4 separate regions of the Homo sapiens genome follow, and all the other regions are linked to region 1. The links are contacts of gene promoters, found by promoter capture Hi-C in blood cells and fetal thymus (Javierre and others, 2016). All regions are on one chromosome and are shown on one strand. The core of a region is centred on a gene start or on the middle of the fragment in contact, and the rest is flanking DNA. Distances in the headings are between cores, read along the strand shown. Region 1 holds the start of MYSM1 (Myb like, SWIRM and MPN domains 1). Region 2 has its middle 34 kb from the start of MIR4711. Region 3 overlaps FGGY (FGGY carbohydrate kinase domain containing). Region 4 overlaps FGGY (FGGY carbohydrate kinase domain containing).

Region 1 (2,780 bases), core at 175-2,674:
GAAGGGTTTTTTTTTCTTTTCTTTTTTTTTGAGATGGAATCCCGCTCTGTCACCCAGGCTGGAATGCAATGGCGTGATCTCGGCTCACTGCAACCTCTGCCTCCTGGGTTCAAGCGATTCTTGTGCCTCAGCCTCCTGAGTAGCTGGGACTACAGTTGCCCACCACTACGCCCAGCTAATTTTTGTATTTTTAGTAGAAACGGGGTTTCACCATGTTGGTCAGGCTGGTCTCGAACTCCTGACCTTGTGATCCGCCCTCCCTGGCCTCCCAAAGTGCTGGGATTACAGGTGTGAGCCACCGCATCTGGCTGTCAGTATCTAATTTCTTGAGAAACTATAAACTAGACAGAAGTGGTGTTTATCCTCCAATTTCTAACAACATGATTGTTACATGGTGAGCACTCAGTAGAGGGTCAACAAAGCCTGGATTCTACTCCTGGCTCTGTCTTTGAAGCTACCTGTCCTTGGACAGTCATTTCAGCTCTCCAGGCCTCAGTTACCTCACCTGTAAAGTATAACTGGTGATATTAGCTCTGCCTACCTCACTGGGACACTGTAAGGATTAATGGTCATGAGCGTGATTTTTAAATTGCAAAGACGTCTACAAAATAAATTACACAATCATAAGTTATATTCTTAAATATTTGTTGAATTTTAAAATAAAAGTTGTTCAGCACTTAGGTGAAATGCTGAACGACTTCACATAAGTGCTGCACGACCCTTTTCTTTAAAAAACAAAGAGAGAGACTTAAATAACCAGCAGGTATGCAACCTTCAGTTCACAAAGCGGGTCTAGCTTGACTTTTTCATCAGTCCAGAAAGATACTGCTGTTATCCCCATTTTATCAGTGAGAGCAGTGAGGTCCCAAAGAATGTGTGCAAGAACAGAAGCTCTTAGAAGCTCAGGAGGGCCCGGGCGCGGTGGCTCACGCCTGTAATCTCAGAGCTTTGGGAGGCCGAGGCGGGCGGATCACCTGAGGTCGGGAGGTCGGGAGTTCGAGACCAGCTGGGCAACATGGTGAAACCCTGTATCTACTAAAAATACAAAAATTAGCCGGGCGTGGTGGCGCATGCCTGTAATCCCAGCTACTTGGGAGGCTGAGGCAGGAGAATCGCTTGAACCCGGGAGGTGGAGGTTGCAGTGAGCTGAGATACGCGCCATTGCACCCAAGCCTGGGCAACAAGAGTGAAACTCCCTCTCAAAAAAAAAAAGCTCAGGCGTGGGCCACTTCCCAAGGTCTCTACATGTCAACAAGTTAGAAAGGACCAAGCCCCAGGCCTCTGGGGGCGCCTTTGCTCTGGAAACCCCGCCTCCCGGCACGGGAGGGGCCGGACGACGCTTCAATCCCGCCCCGTGACGCGTTAGGCCCTGCCCCCGGGCCATCTTCGTCTCGCGGGATCTCTCGGGAGGACGGACGGGGTCAGGTCCCATCATGGCGGCTGAAGAGGCGGATGTGGATATCGAAGGGGACGTGGTAGCGGCGGCGGGGGCACAGCCAGGGTGAGGCTTAGAGACCGGGTCTCTCTGGGGCGGAGAGGGGAGTGGATTGAAGGAGCGGGCCCTGGGAAAGCTGCAGGTCCGGCAAGGGAAAAGGGAACAGAAGACTGTCCCCTGGGCCAGGGTCTCTTGTTGGCCTGGGAGGCACCTCGCCCGCCGGCTTGTCCCAAGCCCAGCGGGCAGGGCGGTTACCTGGAGCTCAGGTACTCCTGGGTCGCTTTCACCTTTTGCCGGATGCTGTGAGGGCACCGATTTCGCCTACCACATTGCGTTTGATTTACATTTAGATTCCTTCTTCCGTTCCCTCCTTTTCAGGATCTCATCGACAGTAACTAGAACAAGAGCGGCTACGGACGAGACCTGAGGTCAGGGACTCTTGTTCTATGGCTTGCTAGCCGTGTGACCTTGGGCGAGTCGTTTCATCCCTTCTTCCACATGGGGATAGTTGTAAAACTTCCCGAGAAGCAGGTTGACTTAAATGGGCCAGGTTTTAGAGTTGGACAGTTCTGGGTTTTCCTTCTGCATTTGCTCGCCCTACCAGTTAATAGCAATGTGACCTTGGGCAAGACACTTAACTTGTCTGAGCCTCAGACTGCTCATATTTAAACTGGGAGTCATGATATGTAATTGGGAGGATCAAATGAAATGATTATGAGATATGCTTTAGCATACGGTAGGTGCCCTCTGAATGTATTCTTTACCATCCTGTTACCCTCGGGGACAGTACTGTGAGAATCCAGTAAGGGATCACATTTTTTAAAATACCTGTTCCAGCAGAACAAACAGCCCAGTGTGATTTGACACAGAACCTCCTTTGACTCCTTGCTTTCTGAATCAAAAATGAGTCTCCTTTTAGTCATGAAGAGTCCTAGACTAGCCAGGAATCAGAAAGCCTGAGTTCTAAAGTCAGCCAGCTATGTTGTTTATAATTATGTACAATTTCCTTAGAACTGTATTAGCTTGAACCATATGAAATTGCCAATATTTAGACCATTTTTGTTCTATAAAGCGGCAACTTCATGTAGTTCAGCCTAATATTAGGGCCTCTGTGAACAGGGGAGAAGTACTAACCCAGCGCTTGAGGCACTAAGATAGTGTGTTTAGAAGTGTATCATGAACTCTAAAGCCCTATAAAGACGTGAGGGGTGATTAAACTCATATGGTCATTGTCCCTCAAAGCTTTGCAGATGAGTAGGGAGCCCTTAATAACAATACTTGTTGACATTCATTTAGTGTTTAAATCTTGACCAAGTGCTTTTGCATGTTTGATTTAATTTACTTT
Region 2 (2,780 bases), core at 207-2,706, 1.1 Mb before region 1:
GGCTTTGTCACTTTACCTTTGCTTGCCAATAGAAATAATTCAGTACTTTGATCAACCAATGAGTTTCAAAAGGGGCCTCCTAGATATTTATATATCATGTTAATGAAGGGAAGCAGGGAAGAGAGAGTAATTAGGAAACTAATGAATCATCTGCTGTTGCACAAATAAGCTAATTTAATTTATTTAGGAAGAAGCAGCGGAGTGGTTCTGCATCTGTGTTCCAGCTACGCAATCTTTTGGACCAGTCACTTAAACTCTAGGAGATGTAGTTTGGGTATTTGTAAACTGGGATCCCACTTTGTCAGGCCTACCCCACCAATTTATTATAAGGGGCAGATGAGATAATGTATGTGCAATCAATAGGGAAACTGTAAAGAAGTATTCAAATGGAAGGCATCCCTATTGATTTTGCCTAAATAACAGACACTAATAAATAAATCATTTTCTATTTCAAATGTGTTTACAATTATGCAGTAGGGAGGCAGGCTCACTCTAGATTTTAATAAGGAAGCACTTCTAATCATGGCTTAAGGCAGGACTTAAATAAAAATTAGGTCTTTAGAAAACACTTATGCTAATATGTAGTTTTAAATGATTTTCTGTGCATAATGAAACACGACCACAAAATTAATGGGCAAGTTAATGCTAAACTGAGAAGTCGGGATTTATTAGCAGAAGTCTTTGCTTTTAAAGTTACTTTAGTTTTACAAATTTTATAGGATTGTCAAATATTCAGAAGTACTGGGAGAAACATCTTTTTTAAAAACATAATTGTTCTTTTAAGTTTTCCCTCTAGAAATCATAAAAGGATAAAAAAAGCTTTTCATATTCAAGACTCCCTTCTATTACTGTCAATAGCAGTTAAGTGTATTTATGGAGACATGAGACAGCACAAAGATTCTTCTGTAATTCGTCAGAAGTCCCATCTTAAGTATAATTACATTACACAGCTCCACTCAGTCATTAGTTTCTTGTTTAGCAACGATGTCCTTCATTTTAAATTCTTGATGGTAATTATTTGTAACTATGCCCTTGAATTCTGAAAGCATGTGTCCTGCAGTCCTGGTGAACAATGGGTGTTTCTGGATTACAACACCTCTGGCTTCCCATAGGATATCATACAGGAAATAGTCTGTAACAACATGGAAAATTTGCAAAAGGTTCTCAGCTTGAGCTACAACCCAAAATGAAGTTGTGTGGTTATGCATGTGTGTATTATGTGCAATAAAAAACTAAAAAAGCAAGTTGTTAGGTATAAGGCATGATTTTTAAAAATCCTTAGTGACCAAAACACATTTTAAAGCATTTGACAGTTGCTTAAATTAAGGCATATTAACACGTACAGAAGATTGACCTGAAAGTGAGTTTTTTTAGTTCTACCAGTGTTTTTTTTTTTTTTTTTTTTTTTTCAGAAAAACATCTTGTGTTTGTGTATTTATTCACTTATGGAATACCCATTACGTGCCAAGAACTGTTTGGGTACAGAGAACAGGCTATAAGATACTCTGAGCCCTCCAAGAGCTCACAGGCCGGTGGCCGGGGGGAGGAAGAAAAAAGCAGGTAAGTAAATCTAAAGAACGTGATTATCCTCAGGCCTGGGAGAAATAGCAGATCATGTTGATATTAAAACCTAAGCATTCTAGCTTGCTAACTCACATGCTGATTTGGTGCATTCTTAAAGCTGGGCGTTTCCAGGGTTGCCTTACGATATTTTTACTGCTCCTCTTGGAACTTATACTCCCCAGTGCAACTGGCAACAACACAGATTATGCTCTGAATATAAAGATCAAATGCCCAGTCTGGATCTTCACAAGAGAGGGCGTCCCTTCTGGATGCCTCACTAGGACTCCAGCTCACTGTGGCATCGGGTCCTGTAGTTTACTGTAGCTCTGCAACATGCCACTCCATTCTGTCATTCTTGTCTTTTCTTCCTCACCTCCCCCAGCTTTTGTTCTCTTTGGCTCTTTTGAAAGCCACATTTATGTTCTTCGCATATGGGAAGTATTTTTGGTCAAAATTTAAAACCTGTAATGCGTTCCTTGGCAAAATGATTTGCTAAGCAAGTCTGGCTTTAACTTGAAAGAAAAGCTTTCAGTAGGCAACAAAACAAAAATCTCACAAACCACTCTGGCCACACTGCAATTCTTATTCATCAAAGCTAAATATACTTTACATGCATGTATTAAATAAAACCACCTTTCTCAGTGCAAGGAGGTGTGTATTGGAGTGATTAAAATTTTTATTACTGAGCCACACGTGGTTTCTAATAGAATTATATATAGACATTTATATTTTTTCCTAACACGGTGGCTTTATAGTAGGAACCAGAATGATTTTCTTAGGGATTAACCTCCTAGCTAGGAGGCAGAGAGAACCATGGAGAAACAATATTTGTAGAGTGCCTATTGTCTGAAAGGCATTGTGCTAAGGGCTTTATCCACAGTTCTTTCACTGAATCCTTACCACCAACCCTAGGAGGTAGGTAGCAGAATGATCCCACCACAGAGGGAAAGACTGAGGCTTAGACAGGTTAGCTATGTTGCCCAAGGTCTTTCAGCCCTTCTCCTTTCTATCAAGCTGCTCCTCACTGTTGAGATGCCAAAGGTGTCCTAGTGTTGCCATGTGTTTTTGCCTAATTTCTGTGTGTTTTCCTTTCTCTATAAAGCAGTGAAAACTCAGGTCAGGTTTGGTTTGGATACGAGTTTGCTTGAAAGAATGGCCAGCACCCGGAGCTTGGCAATCAACAACATGAGCACTGCAACTAAAGAGCAGGTGGTGGG
Region 3 (2,780 bases), core at 154-2,653, 1.1 Mb before region 1:
TGACTTTTTTTGGTCTTAAGAAATTAATTACACTTTACCAGCATTTAATATATGGATTGTTACTAGACAATTTATCAGTTTGGCCACACATCAGTCAGTCATGAGTCACATAAGATGTGTGAGGTTCTTGTGAGGAGAGTGGGAGCTCTCCAACTCCAGGGATGGCCCTATGGCACTCCCTTATATGTCCTCAGCTTCCAGAATTGCTACATGTTGTCGTTTGCATGTTCCAGGTTAGTGATTAATAGGTATTAACTAGTTTAAACTAACCCTCACAAAATGGACAAGCAGCTAAAAAAGATTCAGTCAATGGATTTGCACGTGATGGAGATAATTATCACCAGTTCACCATTCAGATTCAAGTAAACAAGAAAATGGTGATGTATTTACTCAGTACTAGCTCCTCATATTGTAAGGTAAAAACAATGAAGACCTAGTCAAATAAGACAAGGATTGGGAAAATAATCAAAATTATCAAGAAGATTGCCTTAGATTTCGATACATAGGCACATACAAAATCATTTAAAAATCATCAAAAATCATTTTAAAATTATTAAAAACACACCTGGCCATAGACATATAGTGTACTTTTACATGTTGCTAATATTAGCATGAAGCCATCATGACAGGTAAACACATTGGAAATACTTTGGTTCAGCTATATTTCACTTGTTTTATAGAGTAAATAATCTATGAACACAGTATAGCACATCATGCTTTTTCATAAATAGGTTTTCATGTACTGAGGATGCATACTCAAAATTTATTTTAACTGATGGGGGTATATGGTTAAAAAACACTGTGGTGTCTGTTGACTTAGGGGCCGACTACCACTGCCATTGCCATTTTACTGGTTTAAGCTTTGTACTCTGTGCTGTGCTGATTATTTTAAGTACATGATCTTTTTAACCCTCAAAAGGACATTAGGACACAGATCATCTATCACCACTTTGTGAATAAAGGAACTGAAAATAGAGAGAATATAAGTAATTTTCCCAAGGTCATAAAGCCATTATGTAGTAAAACCAGAATTCAAGCCCACTTCTGACTCCAGGCCATTGCAAACCCTACATTCGGACTCAGTGGTACCATTCTCCCTGTCATGAAAACAGCCTGATTCTTGAGTGCCCTAGGCTGGAGTTCAAATCCTACTTCTGCTGCTTATTAGCAGGTGTGATTACCTGGAGTGAGACGAGCACGTGTGTATCAGTGAGATGCATCAATACAGGACACTGTACCTTTTTTTTTTTTACAGATGCTGACACATAGCTCTAAAATACAGGAATCTGCCTTCCTGAGGAACTCTGACTCATTTGACTGGAACAACAAGTTCACATGCTAATGTGTGGGCTGAGGCACGTGACCCCTCCATAGAAAAACAGAAAATATATCAATGTGACTTTCCTTCAACACGCATTAAGAAATGGCTAGTTGTTCTCTTATTTATTTTGCTTTCTTTTCCTTTTGACACAGTCATCTTTTGACCTGCACCTGGTATTCTGTGTAACCCCCATGAATTGGAGACAAAAATATCAATTGAGAAGCAGGAAGGGATGAGAGAAAAAGAGAGTGGGAGAGGTCTTTATCATTACTCATGATATGAAAACTGGCACCTCATTTATAATTTTAAGTACACTATGTGCACACATTTACATATCTTTAGAGTGTTGACTATATGGGTGTATACTTCATCAAAATTCATCAAGCTGTACATTAATATCTTTGTATTTCACCTTATGTGTACTATATCTCAATTTAAAGTTTGCAAAAGAAAATGAGAAAACAGAACTGCATGTCAGTATATTTATATTTTATTTTATTTTCAATTATAAAAATGCCTACCAAGAGAAAAAAAAATTTTTAGACGCCCAGTCCTCTAATTTTGACTCTAAAACATACCTCAAATTGGTCTCTTGGTCATAAAGGAGGGGAGGAGTGGAAGCTTTATAATTCTGTAGGAAATGGAGGCATTAGCAGAAAGATACTGGGTTTTAGAGATAAATGGGCTTGGGGTTGGATCCAGGCTCTGCTACTTATCAGATGTGTGAATCAAAGCTCAGTTTTCCCATTTATTAAGTGGGAATAATAATATCTACTCAGTGTTGTTGAAAATTCCAGTATCCCATTCTCTGACCACTACTGCCTAACTGGTCTCTTGACTTCCACTTTGGTTCCCCTTATAGCAGTCAGGACCAGTCTAGGTGATTTTTCAGAAGCAGAGAAAATAAAGGGCAGTGATTAAAATACAGACTGACTATAACAGACTGCCAGAATTTGAAACTGGATTTTTACATTTACTAGCTGTATAATCACGGAATAATTACTTAATTTCTTCATGCCTGTTGCCTCATCAGAAAATGGGGATAAAAATATGCCTTTCATAGGACTGCTATGAGAAGCACGTGAGTTATTTGAGGTAAAACACAACAATGCCAGCATATAGTAAATGCTACATAAACTTTAGATATTTATTATCCCTTTAGCATGCAAGCTCCATGTGGCCAGGGGTGTGTATTGGATTCATGCACCACACCAAGAACTGTGCCTGGCCAGAATAGTTAATCTATAAGGATTTGTTAAATGAATCAATGAATGATTTTACCTCTCTGGGCTGTTTTTACCTACAACACTCCTGACACCAAATGTATGGGTTTTTTCCTCACACTCACCAATTCTCCAACTCTCCTGCCACCAATTGCATGACTTATAATTAAATTTGATTCAATTCTGACACTGACCCCAGTTAGTTAGTGTCAGACCCCACAGCTTCAGGGCTCAGT
Region 4 (2,780 bases), core at 151-2,650, 1.0 Mb before region 1:
CAAGATCTGACATCTCATAGTGGCAGAGTCAGACTTAGAGCACAGGCTTGACTGACTCTAAAACCAGTAGTTTTCTCAGCCATTTTTAGCCAACTTAAAGTTTGTATTAGAACCAAGACCAAATTTCATTGACCCAAGGGGAACCAAGTGTTTCGGGACTTGACTTAGACACTGGCAACCTATCAATTGATTAAATTGGGCTGCGGATCCCAATGAATGTTGCTGGAAAGCACACAACTTTTTGCCTTTGAATCCTGATTCCAGTCAGTAGGGAACAGGTGTGGAATTCATGTTCACCACCCTCTAAGGGTACTCACAGTCTTAGCCTTCCTTGGTCTCAGCATTGGTTTTTTATGGTACCAATGGATCAGCTGCTTTTGGTGAGCTCTAATTAAGTGCACAAATAGGGCAAGCTTCCCAAATCCCACATTAGTTCTGCTTTGGAATGCCAGAACTTTTCTACCATGGAAAAATGCTTCATGCCCTGACTCTTAACAAACCCAGCAAGTTCAAATGCATTTCTGGGAGGGACAAGAATCCCAAGCTGTTATGTGAGAAGGCAACGAAAGAAAGGGCTTTTCTTGAAAGGGGGAAACAAAGGGCATCCAGAAATGTCACCAAAATGCCCTGCAAACTCTCAAGCTTGCTCCAAGTTGTTCTTTGAAGGCCTCGGAAGTATGATGCATGTAACTCTTTCCTGGGTCAAGGATAGCATACTTAAACCTGAGAATCTGAAGCCAGTATCAGCAAAGATTTCTTTTCATATGTCAAATACAAGGAATAAAAAGGAAAAATAACTCATGCTAAATGGCACAGACTTTGTAACTTTCAAAACTCTCCACCTATTTGACTTGTTATTTCTCTCTCCTCTTCCTCTTTTCCTCATTTTCTTCCTTCTCCTCCTCCTTTTCTTTTCTACACTCACTCCAAAGTCCCATCTAATAACTGCTTGATTCTAGGGGGACTCTCTGGTACTGTAGCTGAGAAGACATAGTAATGGTTGTTTTTATGCATGTGAATTTAACAGCAATCAGCTGTTTGTTTTATATTTAATTCCACATGTGCCAGAGTAAAACCATTTAGGCTATAATCCCCCAAAGACACCACATGTCTGTCTATTCCCAGAGTTCAGTGGACCATTGTGTTGACATATTTTCCCTCATCAAAGGAAAGAAACTAGCTTGGCCTTCAACTTGATGCTCCCAGAGACAAAGCAATGATGGAAGCCACAAAGATTCACCCACCACTAGGTCTTTGAAGTCCCAGATCTAAGTAGATCCTACAGGCTTCATGCTGGCACCCAACCCAGGCCTCTGGTAAGACAGACATAATCCTTCCACTGGTCACCATGGCTTCCTGCCCAGGGAAAGAGCAGGCTCTTTGGGACTTTCTAGCTCAGGAGAGCTGAAGGGGCCTTCATTTAAGGTGGCCATAGTTTATTATCCCAATGAACTCACCTTTGAGTCCTAGACACTTTTTGGAAGGAAAGGGAATGTTATTATTAATAATTATGCCAAGATTAAGACATTAGCTAGGTCTGTCCTGGATATATTATCACCCTTCCACTTCATTTCCAAGGAGCTGCTGATGGTTTGGAGAAATGATTGTCATTGGGCACTTCTCTCTTAATGATGGTAAGAAACAGAAGTTTCAGACTTCAAATTTTGATTTTAATGCCTCTATTCTGTGTTGCTTCTTCTGAAAGATTCTACCAGATGTTTTAGACTTCCAAAAAGCAAAGATATACCTAGAAAATACTGAAGTATGCAACAAATACTAATTGTATCCAGGGCGGAAGCCTTTCTGATGATAGTGAAAGGGGAAGAGGTTCCAGCCCCACATGTGGGAAGGGCCATCTTCTTGAAAGTCTTAGAGTAGGAGTTCTCAAACTTTGGACCAATAAAATATTCAAACTTTTTGGAGATCTACAACATAATTGTCAGCTTTTTATTTGATTATATAAGGACTTTAAACAAAGCAACTGCTCCATATTTACTCTCACCATTATTTCATAACCAAAAGGAGATTTTAATACCAAAAAAGTGGTTATCATGATATCAGAATAAAGGAGAATCATTTAAATAGTCTACATTTAATTTTGTTAAAATCTCAATACCCTGTCCTTATTGTTTCATTTCTCATGGACTAGTGAAGCTTTGTGAAGGACCTGCAGTGGGGACCAGCTGCACGAGTGTGTCACCCATTAAATTGGTGCCAGTAGAGTGGGGTGTTGCTGAAAAGATACCCAAAAATGTGGAAGCGGCTTTGGAACTGGGTAACAGGCAGAGGGTAGAACGGTTTGGAAGACTCAGAAGAAGACAGGAAGATGTGGGAAAGTTTCGAACTTCCTAGAGACTTGTTGAATGGCTTTGACAAAAATGCTGATAGTGATATGAACAATAAAGTCTAGGCTGAGGTGGTATCAGACGGAGATGAAGAACTTGTGGGAATGGGAGCAAAGGTGACTCTTGTTATGTTTTAGCAAAGAGAATGGTGGCATTTTGCCCCTGCCCTAGAGATTTGTAAAACCTTGAACTTGAGAGAGATGATTTAGGGTATCTGGCATAAGAAATTCCTAAGCAGCAAAGCATTCAAGAGGCGACTTGGGTGCTACTAAAGGCATTCAGTTTCAAAAGGAAAACAGAGCATGAAAGTTTGCAAAATTTGCAGCCTGACAATGCAATAGAAAAGAAAATCCCATTTTCTGAGGAGAAATTCAAGCCGGCTGCAGAAATTTGCATAAGTAACGAGGAGCCAAATATTAATCCCCAAGACAATGA

What was found. Contacts are between HindIII fragments. The CHiCAGO score rates a contact against its expected background, and 5 or more counts as called.
Region 2: a contact is called between a fragment that was not itself captured here and the fragment with the promoter of MYSM1 in region 1, in 17 of 17 cell types (total B cells, naive CD8 T cells, monocytes and 14 more). The highest score is 16.4, in total B cells.
Region 3: a fragment that was not itself captured here is called in contact with the fragment with the promoter of MYSM1 in region 1 in 17 of 17 cell types (monocytes, erythroblasts, activated CD4 T cells and 14 more); the score reaches 20.7 in monocytes.
Region 4: a fragment that was not itself captured here is called in contact with the fragment with the promoter of MYSM1 in region 1 in 17 of 17 cell types (naive B cells, total CD4 T cells, total B cells and 14 more); the score reaches 26.5 in naive B cells.

The regions. Positions count from the first base shown.
Region 1 is chr1:58,698,706-58,701,485 of GRCh38, reverse strand. MYSM1 (Myb like, SWIRM and MPN domains 1) reads left to right here and starts at 1,424. Exons shown (of 20, transcript NM_001085487.3): 1 at 1,424-1,501. The coding sequence starts at 1,434. RefSeq lists enhancers at 1,250-1,659, 1,870-1,929. The HindIII fragment of the contact is 3,791 bases long and covers 1-2,679 here.
Region 2 is chr1:59,765,542-59,768,321 of GRCh38, reverse strand. No RefSeq gene overlaps it. Among named protein-coding and RNA genes, the nearest start is that of MIR4711, 34 kb to the right of the region's middle. The HindIII fragment of the contact is 1,269 bases long and covers 822-2,090 here.
Region 3 is chr1:59,749,379-59,752,158 of GRCh38, reverse strand. The region is part of intron 14 of FGGY (FGGY carbohydrate kinase domain containing); the gene reads right to left. Among named protein-coding and RNA genes, the nearest start is that of MIR4711, 17 kb to the right of the region's middle. The HindIII fragment of the contact is 1,082 bases long and covers 863-1,944 here.
Region 4 is chr1:59,712,842-59,715,621 of GRCh38, reverse strand. All of the region lies in intron 14 of FGGY (FGGY carbohydrate kinase domain containing), which reads right to left. Among named protein-coding and RNA genes, the nearest start is that of MIR4711, 19 kb to the left of the region's middle. The HindIII fragment of the contact is 1,512 bases long and covers 645-2,156 here.